Linked DNA regions of Homo sapiens: region 1 is linked to region 2. Evidence: promoter capture Hi-C in 16 types of primary human blood cells and fetal thymus (Javierre and others, 2016). All regions are on one chromosome and are shown on one strand. Each heading gives the region's core, a stretch centred on a gene start or on the middle of the fragment in contact. The rest is flanking DNA. Distances are from core to core; before and after follow the strand shown.

What was found. Contacts are between HindIII fragments. The CHiCAGO score rates a contact against its expected background, and 5 or more counts as called.
Region 1: a contact is called between a fragment that was not itself captured here and the fragment with the promoter of NEURL1-AS1 in region 2, in 3 of 17 cell types (M1 macrophages, M0 macrophages and megakaryocytes). The highest score is 6.1, in M1 macrophages.

Annotation. Positions count from the first base shown.
Region 1 is chr10:103,412,138-103,415,870 of GRCh38, reverse strand. It overlaps PDCD11 (programmed cell death 11), which reads right to left. Exons shown (of 36, transcript NM_014976.2): 9 at 2,549-2,755; 10 at 1,781-1,905; 11 at 1,541-1,601; 12 at 720-866. Among named protein-coding and RNA genes, the nearest start is that of PDCD11, 17 kb to the right of the region's middle. The HindIII fragment of the contact is 2,714 bases long and covers 253-2,966 here.
Region 2 is chr10:103,515,253-103,519,281 of GRCh38, reverse strand. It overlaps NEURL1-AS1 (NEURL1 antisense RNA 1), which reads left to right and starts at 1,840. Exons shown (of 4, transcript NR_120675.1): 1 at 1,840-1,896; 2 at 3,880-3,941. All of the region lies in intron 1 of NEURL1 (neuralized E3 ubiquitin protein ligase 1), which reads right to left. RefSeq lists enhancers at 3,508-3,667, 3,688-3,767. The HindIII fragment of the contact is 6,397 bases long and covers 1,210-4,029 here.

The sequences.
Region 1 (3,733 bases), core at 360-2,859, 100 kb after region 2:
TTCACAACCCTATGAAGCTTTCCTTCGGATTCGAGCCTTTGTCATAAATCACCCATGTTTTGGCAGCTTTGCCAGGGCTATTTCTGTGCCTAGAACACAACCTTTGCTCTCCCCAACCTTCCAAATCCTACCTATCCTTTCAAGTTCCACCTCTGCCAGAAATCTAGAAAACATTATTGTCATACAGAGCTGAATTGTTCTGCCATGTATTAGCTGTGTGACTCTGGGCAAGACGGTTGGCTTTCCGAAGCTTTAATTTCCCCACCCGCAAAATGAAGATAATAGTGCTTAATTGTTAGGGTTGTTTCAAGGATTAAATGAAATAATGCTTGTCACATGCCTAGCATAGAAACTGGCACGGAATACCTGTTCGTGGCAGTCCTGTTCGTGGCAGTCGCTACTGATAACGTCAACAATTCTGGCTGCTCCAGCCCACCCTCACCTCCCCTTTCTCAGGTGTGACCACAGCACACAACCTGCACCAAGCCACATGGCAAAAGATCACAGGCTGGCTTGCTCTCTCATCACGTATGAATATTTTAACTCCCAATTATACTACACAAAACGGGGACTCACTTTTCTCTTCCCAATGCCAGGTACAGCACAAGACACACTACAGACATTACACACTCACTTTGTGGAAAAAGGCAGAAACTTCAGTTGAGAACTGCTTTCTTCCCATCTAGCCAAAACCCCAAGAGACCCTTCAGGAGGCTCACCCGGCACTTGACCTCATCCCCGATGTGGTACTTCTTCTCCGGATTCTTCATCAGGATGTCAGCCAGGTGCATGGGAGGTACCAGGCCCCTCATCTGCTCGCCCACCTTCACCAGCATCCCATATGACTTTATGGTTAGCACTGTGCCCTAGAGAATCCAAAGATAAGCTGCCACAATGTCTCAAGAATGGCCTTTCCCCCACCTCTTACAACAAGGCATGTCATACCTCCCCTTCACAGCCAACTTCCTGGGCTAACTGTGCCTGTTATTCCAGATGGCACATGGGTGAAGCACACACCCCACACTGAGCTGGATTATTCTGTCAGCTTTATTTATGGGAGCCTTCACATCTTTCTGTGTGAGCATGTGCTTTCTGTGTGCCTTAAAATACATTCCCCAAAGGAAGGGACTATGTCAAGGTCTCCTAAGGAATAAACTCTACATATAAAGGGAGCTGCTCGATTAGAGCCAAATGGTCGGACAGGACAGGTACCTGGAACTGGCTTCTCACTAATATCCCAGGTAGATCAATAATCACAGGACTAACTTTTGATCAGGTCTACTAACCACCATCAAATCCCAAATCTCAGGATTTATGATCTACTGCCTTTGTGTAGCTGGGTGGTGCTAGTAAGATCTTACCTTGAAATTAACTATGAGTTACCCAAAGAAAGAGAAAGAAATTCTAGTCAGCAGGCAGAAGCAAGGAACATGACATTCAATGTGTTAACATGAGGACTAACGGGCTGACAGTCACCTGTGCGTGAACTAAAGAACGCCTGATGGTGAGGCAGTACCTAATTATATGCTTGAGGTCTTACCTTTACCACTGCCCCAGGTTCGATGTCATGATATCTAAGGTACTGAGCTTCAATAATAGACCTAGGACAAGGAGAAAACACAGAATTAAATAAACTAGGGCAGAGGTTGCCTAAAATTCAGGGCTACCACAGGCATGCTGGCAAGAAAGAAAACCCTTCCCAAGCACAGCCAGGAGAAATGGAATATGAACATGTACAGGTGCACATCTCTACACCCCTACCTGTTAATGACAGACTTACGTTCGTAGAGAGAGCAAGGCCAGTTCATCCATTTGGCTGTAGTCAATAATTCTACACTTGTGAGTGTTCCCTGGCTTGAAGGCCTCAGGATTGAAGACGTTCTTAGAATCAGAGAGATGGCTGAGCTGCAAAGTACCAAGTGATTGAGGATAAGCCAGGGACAACAGGTCTGAGCCAATGAGACCTTACAGCCCATAGAGAGGACTCAACACTTATCATGTACCATAAAAACAGTACTTTGATTGCCTGGTTAAGTAATTCTTCACACTAAAAAACTGCTCTTTATCATCACAGAATTTCAGCAAGGTCAGGGAAAGTCCAGAACACAGGTCAGTCAACTGTGCCTAGTGCCTGTTTTTGTAAATAGAAGTTGTATTGGAATACAGCCATCTGTTCATTTACGTACTGTCTATGGCTGCTTTCATGCCATAACAGCAGCGTTGAACAATTAGGACAGAGACCACAGGGCCCACAGCCTAAAGTATTTATGACATAGCCCTTTAAGAAAAACTCTGCTGGGCCCTGGTCTGGATCCTAACTCATCCTTATACTTAACTATTAACCAAGTATCAGATATGGCAAGCTGGTTCTAAGGCATCCTAATACAGTCAATAGACATTGTTCTAATCACTATGAACAGGAATTAGAACTACAATATCCAAAAATTTTAAACTAGCATCAAGGAATGAAAGAAGCAGAAATGGCCCCCTGTGCTCCAGAAGTCCTTCCAGTGATAAGATCCCTGACCAAACAAAGAGGCCTCCTTACCCGGGCATAGGCCAGAACCCCATCCTTCAGCCTAAAGGTGGCCCCAGCCTTTTTGAAAAAACCCTGGACAGGAACATCATCCAGCACTGCTCCAAGGTTCTGGCAAGAGAGTCGGGTGAGTGGGCGTCCAGGCTGTAGGAAGATGGGGCGCAGGCTCAGGTGCACAACTCTGGTTCGAGGATGGACGCAAAGGATGCAGGCCCTCACCTAGACAAAAGGAAGGGCAGGGTGAGCAGGAGGAGGCACACAGGAGCACCCTAGAGCAGACCTTCCAGGCATCAAGCCTTTCCACATGCTAACCAGGTATGTGAGTACTCACATCCTTAGTATGTAAGTACTCAAACTGGCTTCCACACTCAAGCAGAATGCAGAAAAATCAAAATGTCCCATAGGGACTATGTATGACTAAATCAAAGCTTACTCAAGCCAGGTATGGGTGGCTCACACTGGTAATCCCAGCACTTTGGGACACCAAGGCAGGTGGATCACTTGAGCTCAGGAGTTAGAGACCAGCCTGCGCACATAGTGAAACCCTGTCTCAACAAAAAATACAAAAATAGGCTGGGGATCATGGCTCACGCCTGTAATCCCAGCACTTTGGGAGTCTGAGGTGGGCAGATCACTTGAGATCAGGAGTCTGAGACAGCCCAGCCAACATGGCGAAACCTCATCTCTAGTTTTAATAAAAAAAAGTTAGGCTGGAAGCAGTGGCTGATGCCTATAATCCCAGCTCTTTGGGAGGCCGAAGCAGGCAGCAGGCAGATCACGAGGTCAGGAGATCAAGGCCATCCTGGCTAACACAGTGAAACCCCGTCTCTACTAAAAATACAAAAAATTAGCTGGGTGTGGTGGCACACACCTGTAATCCCAGCTACTCAGGAGGCTCAAGCAGGAGAATCGCTTGAACCCAAGAGGCGGAGACTGCAGTGAGCCAAGATCACGCCACTGCACTCCAGCCTGGGCGACAGAGCAAGACTCCGTCTCAAAAAAAAAAATTAGCCGGGCATGGTGGTACGTACCTGTAATTCCAGCTACTCAGGAGGCTGAGGCACAAGAATCACTTAAAATGGGGAGGCAGAGGTTGCAGTGAGCCAACACTGTGCCACTGCACTCCAGCCTGGGTGACAAAGTAAGACTCAGTCTCAAGAAAAAAAAAAAAAGTTAGCCAAGCATGGTGGCATGCAC
Region 2 (4,029 bases), core at 591-3,090:
GTGTTTTTTTCTTTCTTTCTTTCTTTCTTTTTTTTGAGACAGAGTCTTGCTCTGTTGCCTAGGCTGGAGTGTGATGGCACGATCTCGGCTCACTGCAACCTCCATCTTCCAGGTTCAAGCAATTCTCCTGCCTTAGCCTCCCGAGTAGCTGGGATTACAGGCACCCGCCACCATGCCCAGCTAATTTTTTTGTGTTTTTAGTAGAGACAGGGTTTCACCATGTTGCCCAGGCTGATTTTGAACTTCTAACCTCAAGCGATCCACCCGCCTCAGCCTCCCAAAGTGCTGGGATTATAGGCATGAGACACTGCGCCTATAAAAGTTTAAACTGTAAAAGCAATATGTGCTTATTGTTAAAAATAAATAAATATAACAGTACTGATTTGTGTGGAGTAAAAGCATCCCGTTCCCCAACACTACTCAACCCCAGCCAATTCTCCAGAGGTAGCCCCTGGTAACAGTTGGGTGGGTATCCACTCAGCCTTGGTCTGTGTGTGTACAAACAAACAAAGTAAATATGTCTGAGTGATAACTAGATGCACAGGTAGATATCAAGGTATGGAACCACAGAATAGAGTTGTTCCCCAAGATACCTGCACTGCTCACTCCCTCACCTCCTGCAAATGCCATCAGGTCTTCTCTGGCCCAACCTATTCAAAGTGCTGTTCCCCAGACCCCCCAACTCATAATCCCTGTATCTGCCTCACTCATGGTTTCTTTCTCTCCAGGGCATTTTTCATCATCTGACATCCATATGTCATGTTTTTGGGTTTTAAAAATCTGTCTCTCTTCATAAGAATATAATTCCATGAGACAGAGGACTTGTTCCCTGCTGTATCCTAGTACTTAGAACAGTGCCTGGCACACAGTAGGCATTGACTAAATACTGGTTGAAAGAAAGGAATGAAAGAAAAGAGGGAGAGAGAGGGAGGGAAGGGAAGGGAGAGGAAGAGGGGGAAGGAAAAATGTAGCACTCTAAATGCAAACAGGCCCATACTATACATATTACACAATTTGCTCTTTTAATAATATAGTAGACTTTTTTTTTAAATCATGGTACCTCATTAATGTGTAAAGCTGCAAGGTATTCCTGTGAATAGACGTCATCATTTACTTAACCCACTGCTTCCTTCCTGAAACTGTGTGGGCAGTAAGTGGAGAAAGGGGCAAAATAAGGTACTCCCAGTCCATGGCTCTTGGCAATAAGCTTTCCCAAATTTCAGTCTAGGAAATTGACTGTTCATGGATCAGGGCATGCAAAGTTACCCTCAAGAGACATAAAGGATACCTGGCTGGAGGTGAAGAAAAGATGTGTTCATTGGATGCCAAAGATCGGTGAAAAGGGGATGTCACTGAGGCACACTGCGGTGAGGCCCACGGGAGCAGAGCCAGGGAGATGGTGGCCTGCCAGGCCCAAGTGTTGGGTCCTCCTGGCAGGCATTTCCCTGTTGGTGAAGTGGCCTGGGCAAGGCTCAGAGCCCATAGGCATTGAACTCTCAGACTGTGTTCTCAACTTGCCAGGCCTAGAGCAAGTTCACCCAGCACTCAAAGAGCTGCTGCAGGGGAGAAGGTGCCAGGAAGTCCATCTGACAGAAAATTTCTCTTTGGGAAACAGTACATTGACTTCTGATTTGACTCATGAACCTTTGTGGACTTGATTACAGACAGCCAGGGGCTTCCAGTCCTATCAACTCAGAGGAGACACAGAGGAGATGAAATTTGGGGCCAGCTCAGGCAAAGGCCAGATGTGGGCAGGAGAGGACTCACTACGGAAACCAGCCCCTCAGGCTGACCCACCTAGCTCCTAGCTCACAAAGCCATTGTGTTGAGTAAATGAGGTCAGAGCTGTGGGTCTTGGGGCTCAGGGCCTGGTACACAGTAGGAGGTCATTAAACAGTAGGTATTTCTTGTTTATTATTAGAAGTTTGAAGAAGGTGAGTAATGGTATAGGGCAGGTCACACAATGGTGACTCACACCTGTAATCCCAACACTTTGGGAGGCCAAGGCAGGAGGATCGCTTGAGCCTAGGAGTTCAAGACCAGCCTCAGCAATATAGTGAGACCTCATCTCTACAAAAAGTTTAAAAATCAACTGAGCGTGGTAGCACATGCTGGTAGTCCCAGCTACTCAGGAGGCTGAGGTGGGAGGATCCCTTGAGCCCAGGAGGTGGAGGCTGCAGTAAGACGAGATCACGCCACTGTACTCCAGCCTGGGTGACAGAGTAGGACCCTGTCTCAAAAAAGAAAAAAGAAAAGGGAGGGAGGGAGGGAGGAAGGATGGAGGGAAGGAAGGAAGAAAGGAAGGGAGGGAGGGAGGAAAAGGAAAGGAAATAAATCAGGAAGTGTAAGTATTCCAGGTTTTTCTTCCAAAGAAGGAAGGAAGGAAGGAAGAGAGGGAGGGAGGGAGGGAGGAAGGAAGAAAGGAGAAAGGAGAAAGGAAAGTAAATAAATCAGGAAGTGTAAGTCCTCCAGGTTTTTCTTTCTTCCAGAATCGTACTGGTTATTCCAGGTCCCCTGAGGAGGAATCTACATTTTTCCAAGCTCTCCAGGCAATTCGTAGGCCCTTAGAGAACCACTGCACTGTGCCATATCATACCTCTAAACTCTGCTCCCTTGGCCTCTCTGGCCCTCTGACCTTTCCTGATTCTCCTTGTACCTCTCCCACACCTTCTTCATGGTTTCATTCTGTCCACCCTGTGATATTTCAACCACTCTCATGGTTTAAGTGACACCCACTGCTGACAACTCATTGTGGCCCTGATCTCTCTTCTGAGATTCAAGCTCACACATGGAGTTGCCAACCCAGCGTCTCCCCCAGGATATCTCAGGGCTCTTCTGACACACCCTGGCCAAAACTCAACCTATCATCTTTCCCTCCAACCCCCGCCTTCTGCTTGGGGTCCTGATGGGATCACCATTCTCCCAGTCACCTGAAAACCTGGCACCAGGAATAATCTTGGATTATTCCCTCACTCTCACCGCCTGCATCATTCAGTTATCAGTGCTGCCAAACACAACCTTTTATTTTTTTCTTTTCTTTTTTTTTTTTTTTTTGAGATGGGGTCTCACTCTATCACCCAGGCTGGAGTGCAGTCGTGCAGTCTCAGCTCACTGCAACCTTCACCTCCCAGGCTCAAATGATCCTCCCACCTCAGCCTCCCAAGTAGCTGGGACTACAGGCGCACACCACCACACTCGGCTAATTTTTTATATTTTTGTAGAAATGGTGTTTTGCAATGTTGCTCAGGCTGGTCTCAAACTCCTGGACTCAAGTGATCCACCTGCCTTGGCCTCCCAAAGTGCTGGGATTACAGGCATGAGCCACCGCACTCGGCCAAAGCACACCTCTTAAATATGTTTCAAACGTGTTCCTTCCTCTCTTGGACCACATCTGTAGTTCAGGCTTCAGCATCCCTCCCCTAGACAACTTCACTTCCTTCATAAGTGGTCTTCCAACTTGTCCCTCTTAACTCCATCCTCCACAGGGTAGCCAGCACGATCTTTCCAAAAAGCAAATCTAAAACTTTCAATAGCTCCTACTGCCCAGAGACACCTAGGGTCTGTGTGGACACTAGTTCATTCGTCATCTGGTTTCACTTTCATGGCTGAGCTAAATGTTTCACTAGGTGGTGATTTGTTCTTGGCAACAAGATGATCTTTTGCAAATGAGAGTCTCACTGACCTTGCAGAAGTGAAAGTTTACTATACCTTTATAAACAGCCTTGGCTAATGTACTAGCATGACTGCTAAAAGAGCAGTGACTGGAATTTTCATAGTAAACAATGCAGCATCTCCTACCCTAATTTCCCCAGCACCAGGGGCCTTCTAGTTAGGATTCCCCAGGCCCACACTTTCTAACATCTCTCTTTCCTTTTCCAGTCCCACACTGGTCAGTTACAGCCTCCTACGTCCCAGCTGTGCGTTTCCTGTGAAAAGAATAAGTGAGTAAATGAGAAGTTATTTTAAAGGATGTGAAGTGGGGAACTTCCTCTGGAAAGAATATCTAAACACACACTTGATGTTTCTTTT